Linked DNA regions of Homo sapiens: region 2 is linked to region 1. Evidence: promoter capture Hi-C in human tissues and cell types (Jung and others, 2019). All regions are on one chromosome and are shown on one strand. The core of a region is centred on a gene start or on the middle of the fragment in contact, and the rest is flanking DNA. Distances in the headings are between cores, read along the strand shown. Region 1 holds the start of PRRG1 (proline rich and Gla domain 1). Region 2 has its middle 39 kb from the start of PRRG1.

The links. Contacts are between HindIII fragments. The study calls those that stand out against the background at their distance.
Region 2: a contact is called between a fragment that was not itself captured here and the fragment with the promoter of PRRG1 in region 1, in 1 of the 25 tissues and cell types used here (pancreas).

What each region holds. Positions count from the first base shown.
Region 1 is chrX:37,347,492-37,351,492 of GRCh38, forward strand. It overlaps PRRG1 (proline rich and Gla domain 1), which reads left to right and starts at 1,873. Exons shown (of 4, transcript NM_001142395.2): 1 at 1,873-1,904. RefSeq lists enhancers at 1,669-2,180, 2,181-2,691. The HindIII fragment of the contact is 19,124 bases long and covers 1-4,001 here.
Region 2 is chrX:37,308,274-37,312,274 of GRCh38, forward strand. No RefSeq gene overlaps it. Among named protein-coding and RNA genes, the nearest start is that of PRRG1, 39 kb to the right of the region's middle. The HindIII fragment of the contact is 5,199 bases long and covers 1-4,001 here.

The DNA of each region.
Region 1 (4,001 bases), core at 623-3,122:
TGGTAGGAACTTGGTAGGTGTGAGCAACTTGTAACAGGCTACGGTGCCAAACCAGCAGAACATGACTTTGAGATGTTCTGTTAGAATGACCCTGTCTGTATTGAGAGCCTGAGCTGGAATTCAAAGCATTCCTGTTGCTGGTTCCATTTAATCCTATGGCCAATCATAGACCTACCCTTTCACAACTTGGGTTACACAATAACTTCCTGTTTTTGCCTGATCTACTTCAATCTAGTTTTTGTCATTTCAACCAAAATATCCTGAAAAATTTAGACAAAAAAGAAAAAAATAATCAAGTGAAAAGTTTTAAAAAAACACATATGCACATTTATTAAGGATGCAAATCTTACTTTTATTAGCCTAGCAATTTTTTTAAGAACATGTATGTGAAATATTTTACTAGTGAAATGAATAGGACAAAGTCCTGCTTCCAGGCACTTACAGACTTACTAATCCTGCAAAATTTGTGCCTACATTACCAATATACCTTTTGGCAATATATCTCTCTACATCCTCCCTAGGCTTATTTGACAAGTGCAAGATAGAAATGAGTTCTAGAAAATCTGATTTGTAAAATATATGAATGGAAGACAAGAAAGGTTAAATGGAAGAATTTTGGGATATTCAGATCTTTAAGGGCAATCACCAAACTCTCCCATAAAATGCTCCCATCACAGTTAAAATGCTTGCTAGGAAAGACTATTGGTGTGGTCCTGTGGCAATTCTTTTATTCTTAATAAGCCAAATGTTTCTTAATTCCATCACAATTAAAGTAAAAAGAAGGGGAACTTAGTTTGGAATAAATCACTTCAGGTCCACAGCCCAATTCACTTTGGATTCACTCAGGCGTGTGTTTATTTTAATAGCTGATCTGAAAGCATGTGAGATGCCACAGCTGACCAGACTGTAAACAGAAAAGCATACAAGTTAAAACCAAGCACGCATGCAGCATGGAATAATAATCAAGCTAGACTCCTTATGATGCAAAATGCCAGAAAACCTCCAAGCATTAGGTCAAAGTTTACACAATAGCAAAAGCCTTTTATTCTGTTTCTTAGAGGGGCTTGTAGAAGTTTAAGATTCAAGTTCTAAGATAGCTCTACCTAAAAAGCGAGGTCAAAGATGGGTTTTCTTCTCAAGATATTTGGGTAAGTTTGTACAAGACGGTTTTTTTTTTTTTTTTTTTTTTTAGAAAAAGCAGATAGTTGTCACCAAGAGTTGTCCGGAAACAGTGGCAAGGGAATTATTCCTCAAGGAAAGTGCAATTCTCTGAGCTGTAACAGTGGACAATGGTCGAATAGTCACCAACCACGATCTGGGCTCACACATAGCAAAGAGGTATATTAACTAGGATGCCCTACACAGGCGGTCTGTGGATGAGAAATCCCTATGCCCCTCACTTCACCAGGGCTGAAGAGTACGCGATGAGGAGAAATGACTAGGAAAAGGAATAATGTGTGGTGAGGTATGTATGCGAAAGAGAAAAAGGCTGGCGGGGACCCGCGGTGGCTAGGAGAGACGTGGCGGCCCAACGGCTGACTACTTGGGCCCGCGCCGAGCCAGGCTTTCTCCACGGTGCGTGTGGGAGTGCACAGAGGGGCCTCGACGGCTTTTCTGTATGTGTTATAAATAAACCCCAATAGTGGAAAGCTCCAGCAGGATGCCCTGAGCCCTGGGTCTTCCCAGCAGAAGCGGTGGAGGATCCGCCCCTCGTTTCCCACCCCCGCGCCCCACCCTGTTCCCGCCCCTTCTCTCTTAACCCCGCCCCAGCCCAGCCCCCGCCTCTTTCCACCTCCCTTCCAGTCCGCTCCCGGTTCCTGGCTCCAGCTAGGCTCGGCAGAAATAGGAGCGCGCAGGCGCGACGTGCGGCTCGCAGAACGGCGAGTAGCGGAGCGGGACCCGCTGTGAGTGTGGCGGCCGCGCTGGGTTCCTAGCTGGGGAAACGTGATCCAGGCGAAGCGCCCCAGGAAGGATTGGGGTGTGTGGGGGTGACTTCGGTTCTGCGAGGAGAAACCCGTCAGATATGCGGTAGCGTTGGTAGCGACGCTGCCTGTGGGTGTCCGGCCAGGGCCGCGTGGGGAGCGGAGTGCGTGGTAGCGGGAGTGGGTGAGGGTGGGTATGACGAGAAAAAAAATTGAAGGAATGGGGTTTACAGGCTGGAAGTCCGCACACAGACTGGGCAGGACCGCGAGGCTTGCCAACGGTGCTGGAGGGTGTCCCAGCTTCAAGTTCAGTCCCCTGCTTGGTGCCCATGAGGGACGTCCCAAGCTCATCCCTTCCTCCAGCGCTGCTTTCTCTGGTGCAGAGTTGCTAGAAACATTCCCCGTCGGAGGGGAAAGGATTTGGAGGCGGTGGGCTGTCGGCCCGGGCTAGTCCCAAGGAGGGCGTGGCGTTCGTGTGACTTTCCTTTACCCACCCCCGGGAATGTGTCCCTCTTCTGATCCATTGTGCCCGTGGACATTTTAACAAAGGCTATGACTGTTTTGTAGGCAGTGGCGGGTGACAGTGGGAGGGGGTGCGTGCGAGGTCGGTCGCGGTGCGGCCCTGGGGGATGGGAGAGCGGGGGGAGGGGGAGGCGGCGTGGGGGGAAGTGAAAGGAAGAGAAACAGTCTTCCTGCTTCAGGTTTTTCCTTCTTCCTGGTCCGCTGAATTTGATCACTGGTAGGAACAGCCCCAAGAGGGATATGACTGGAAAGTAGTGTGTGCGCGTTTGGACTCTGGCTCCAGCCACTGGTTTTTGTGATTGTGCTGTGCAAGTATTTTCTACGAGTCCCTTTAGGAGAAAAGCGAAACTAATGGGATTTGAGAGGAAATAATTGAATGAAAGGATGAAGAGGTTGAGTGACAAAACTTAGAGCTTAATTATTTGTCTGTTGATGGTCATACTATAAAGCCAGACTTTGAAGGATGCGAAGGTGTTCAAGCCAGGGTAAGTGAAAAGTTGGTTAGGCTACTGTTGATTGTTTCAATCAAGAGTGGATTATTGGGCATGTGTGTGGATGTGCTGTCAAGATCTTGGGCCGACTCACTTTAGAACCTTTGAAAATAATATTAAGGATACAAAACATTAGGGCAAATATTGTAATATTGGATAAAGCTCCATATGCTTTCATTTTCAAACTTAGGGACTTTTATGAAAGATAGTATATGTGTTCCCAAGCATAGATGTTGATATTTTTACTCATTTGTTTTAAGTTAATACAACAAAATAAACTGAACTTCCTCCTCTCCACCCCTTTCCCTCGATTGTAAATCCCGTTTTATAAACGTTTACTTTCTGATCTGAAGTATACTTAAAAACACAATTACCCCGCCCAACCCCCACCCCTGCACCAACCCCAGGCATGAGGTGAACAGGATTTCTTCTGGTTTTATTGTTATGTTATTCTTTCTTTTTCTATTTTCCCAAATTTGGGGCAGGTGGAGGGCGGGGAGTGTTAGGGATGCCTTTTCTCTTTTCTAGTGCCTGATGAACTCCTATTCATCTTTCTAGACTTAGCCTGATTCACTTCTTGAAAAATTTTGCCATCTTCTCCAGAGTGAATTAATCACACCCTTTTCTGTTAAATTTATATAACTTGCCTTATTTCTCCATTACTACTAGAACCTCAGTCTTTTGTGTTACCCTTGTACCTAGAGCTGCCTGGCATGTGATAAGCACCTAATAAACTAACTTACAGATATATATTAATAAATGCTGTTAGAAAGATGGTAATTCATAGGCCGGGTGCAGTGGCTTACTCCTGTAATCCCAGCACTTTGGGAGTCTGAGGCAGGTGGATCACAAGGCCAGGAGATCCAGACCATCCTGGCTAACATGGTGAAACCCCGTCTCTACTAAAAATACAAAAAAATTAGCCGGGCGTGGTGGTGGGCGCCTGTAGTCCCAGCTACTAGGGAGACTGAGGCAGGAGAATGGCATGAACCCGGGAGGCGGAGCTTGCCTTGAGCTGAGATCGCGCCACTGCACTCCAGCCTGGGCTACAGAGCGAGACTCCGTC
Region 2 (4,001 bases), core at 633-3,132, 39 kb before region 1:
AATCCTGAATTCTAGTAATGTGTCCATTCCCTTCTTTTCCCTGACTTCTTAGTTATGTGTAAATTTTGAAAAATAATGTGACCAGTACTTGCTTAGAATCTTCAAGAGGAGTTTGAATAGGGATGTTTTAGTTTCTTTGCATTTTGTCTCCATTTTTGACATTCCAGGACTAACAAATATTCTCTTAGAGACCCAGGCAGAGTACTTTCTTCTTGCTGTTTCTCATGCTCTTTCTGGGAATGTCCACGCCTTCCCTTTTTTTTTTTTTTTTTTTTTTTTTTGAGATGGAGTGTCACTCTGTCGCCCGGGCTGGAGTGCAGTGGCACAATCTCGGGTCACTGTAAGCTCCGCCTCACGGGTTCATGCCATTCTCCTGCCTCAGCCTCCTGAGTAGCTGGGACTACAGGCGCCCGCCACCATGCCCGGCTAATTTTTTTTTGTATGTTTTTTAGTAGAGACGGGGTTTCACCGTGTTAACCAGGATGGTCTCGATCTCCTGACCTTGTGATCCGCCTGCCTCGGCCTCCCAAAGTGCTGGGATTACAGGCGTGAGCCAAAGCGCCCGGCCTGACCACGCCTTCCTATGCACCAGGGCCAGTACTGACTAATATGTTTGGCTTTATATCAGTTGATTTTGCAAATGGTAGGGAATTTGTCAGGTCATAATGGGAAAAGACATAGGTGGAGTCTTGTGCAGGCCTCCTTATGCTCGTACCTCCTGTACAGGCCTCCTTATGTTCATACCTCCTGTGAGCGGTCACGTAGAACATCCTCTTCTTCCAGCAACAAAAATGCAGCAATGTGTGTGATGTTTCTGCCTGAGGGAATCACTTTCTGACTCAGTTTAGGGTTTCTACTGGAGTTGGCAGCATGAGCACCTTCTGACTATCGTGTACCAGAAATTCAGATGCCCAGAAGGATAGCAGGTGCTCAGAATAAACCATATTGTTTGCACAAACAGTTCAGGGACAGTAAACACCCTTGTCAATTGGGGAATGTTAAGAACCCACCTCCCCCCCGCCACAGCCCCCTCCCAGATCTAAGCTCTCAGAAAGCAGTCATGGGCAAAGCTTACAAGCAGGCCTTTTTTTTTTTTTTTAATTATACTTTAAGTCCTGGGATACATGTGCAGAACGTGCAGGTTTGTTACATAGGTATACACGTTCCATGGTGGTTTGCTGCACCCATTAACCCGTCATCTACACTAGGTATTTCTCCTAATGCTGTCCCTCCCGCCACCCCCAACCCCTCCACAGGTCCCAGTGTGTGATGTTCCCCTCCCGGTGTTCATGTGTTCTCATTGTTCAACTCCCACTTCTGACTAAGAACATGCGGTGTTTGGTTTTCTGTTCCTGTGTTAGTTTGCTGAGAATGATGCTTTCCAGCTTCATCCATGTCCCTACAAGCAGGCCTTTCTAAGGCTTGCCATGTTCACTCTTTTCTGCATAGGAGAGTTGGCTTAGACCTCAGAAAATGGAAACAGAATTACTACGGAACCTGATGGGATAGAATGATGAGGTGAAACCGACAAGGTGAAGCCTATTAAGGGAAAACAAGAGCCTTGCATTAAAGTCTGAAAGATTGATCACTAGTACCGGATGGAGGAGACACAGCTTGACAGTAACTAATGTGGAAAACACCCAGGTGGGTTTGTTCCTTATTATGAATTAACAATCTTAACTGAGTCATTGGAAAACTAATGGAAACTTATTCTAAATTAGTGGGAATGTCATGCCCAGATCAATGGAGGTAGAACTCCCATGGTATTCTGAAATGGTCAAACATCATTTGGACAGATGTATGTGTTTCTAAGGTCCTTATCCTAATAGAGATATGAATAAATAAGAAACATGCAGTGGGCAGTGTGAGTTTCAAGGCTGACACTGAAAGAGGAGCAGTCTTAGAATTTTCTTTTTTTAATTTTTAATTTTAATTTTATTTTAATATACACCTACATAGTAGGTGTATATATGTATGAGCCACATGAGATGTTTTGATACAGGCATGCAATGGGTAATAATCACATCATGTAAAATCGGGTATCCATCTCCTCAAGCATTTAACTTTTCTGTTAGAAACAATCCAATTATACCCTTTTAGTTATTTGTAAATGTACAATTAAATTATTATTGAGTATAGTCACCCCGTCATGCTATCAAATACTCGGTCTTATTTATTCTTTCTGCCTATTATTTTTTGAGGTTTTGAAAACTTTATAAATGAGTCATAGCTATTCTCTTTTGCTCTATTTGAGCAGATCTGGGGCCAATGGTAGCAGCTTTGGGGAGACAGATACAGAGTCAATATAAAAAGCAATTGAATTAGCTGACTTTGGCAGGAAGGCGTTCTCCAGTACTGGAAGTATTCGTGCTGCTGGATGAACATTTATCTGTAGACTGGATGAGACATTGAACCTGAAGACCTGAAGATTCTTTCTATACTCTAGAATCCTTGACTCTATGGTTAAGGTAATTTAGACATTTTCTGTTGTGCCTATGGCTTAAACACTGTTCAATGAATAGTCAAAGTCCAACAAGAGTAATCTTTGTCCAGAGTCTTTGATTTTTATTCTGAGTGTTACAGCAGAAACAATCAAAACGCTCACGAGCACTATGGGCTCATTCTGTAACATTTCCTTATACAGATGGCCCCTAAATTTGGAGACAAAACCTTTCACATTGGTGATACTCATGCTTGGAATTTCCACATTCAAAAAAAATCTTAAAGGATTATGTGGCAAATATCAAAATAGTACCTCAAGGAAGGACACTGTTAAATTTAGGTGTGATTTCAGGGGACATCAGCAAGTTCCTTAGTCCCAATTGACCAGAACTCCTTGGATAAAACCATCAAAACATTTTCTTGTGGAAATTGAAAATGAGTTGACTTTCAGAAGTCCCTATTGAAAAAAAGTGTCCTCTAGGGGAGGTAATGCTTCAGAGAATATGATGTAAACCAGGTGTTTCTAAACTTTTTGTATCACATATATTATCAGCAGATATATGTGTGTGTATATATATATATATATATACACACACATATATACACACACATTTACATACACACACACATGTATTTGAGTATGTAACCCCAATATGTGTCTATGCATTTATTTACATATATTCACAACTCTCTTGACTCCCTCTTATTAAAATGTACTTCCTTAAAACAGTTACAACTCTAATCACTCTAGCTCTCTGCCTACTCTGCAGCTGTGCCCTGCTACTGCATTTGACTGGAGAAAAATCCATAACCATATAGATAGGTCTCTCTTTAAATTCATGCTGCAAACCTCAAACGGGCTCTTCATGTAGCTGGTCTATCAGACTGTTCTTCTCTGATCTATTCATGCTCCTCTAAGTGTATTTCATACTTTAGTGTGCTATAAACCACTTGGGGATGTTAGTAAATACAATTTCTGATGCTGCTGTGGACCCTGAGAACCTGCATTTCTAACAAGCTTCCAGGTGATGCTGACACTGCTGGCCCCTGAGTAACAAGTTCCTGGATGACTGTTTTATACCTTGGCATCTCTGTTCAAACATTTAACACCTCCTCCCTCATCGCTATTCTCAGCTACTGTCCTGATTCCTACAGCATTGAGAAAGCCTAAGTAATCAGAAGAGGACTTCACAGTCTCCATGTTATCTACACACCTACCAGTTTTTGGACTCGTATACTCTGCCCTTCCACCTGTTAATAAACATTCAAACAGAACTTGCCTAAAAGTAAACTTCTGATGCTGTCACTAAAATCTCTTCCATGTCCCGTGCACCCATTTCAGTGGATGGCACTGTCGCTCTTCCAGTCACTCAAGTAAGAAGCCTTGAGAAAATCTTCTTCATGTTTCTTTCTTCATGCCCTATATTCAACCTCTTACCTTTACCTTCAACATAGATCCACAATCTGACCACTTCTCACCAACTCCACTGTTACCACCTGCTCCAAGTTGCCTGGATCACCAAAATCAGCTGCTAAATAGCCTCCCTGCTCCTATCCTT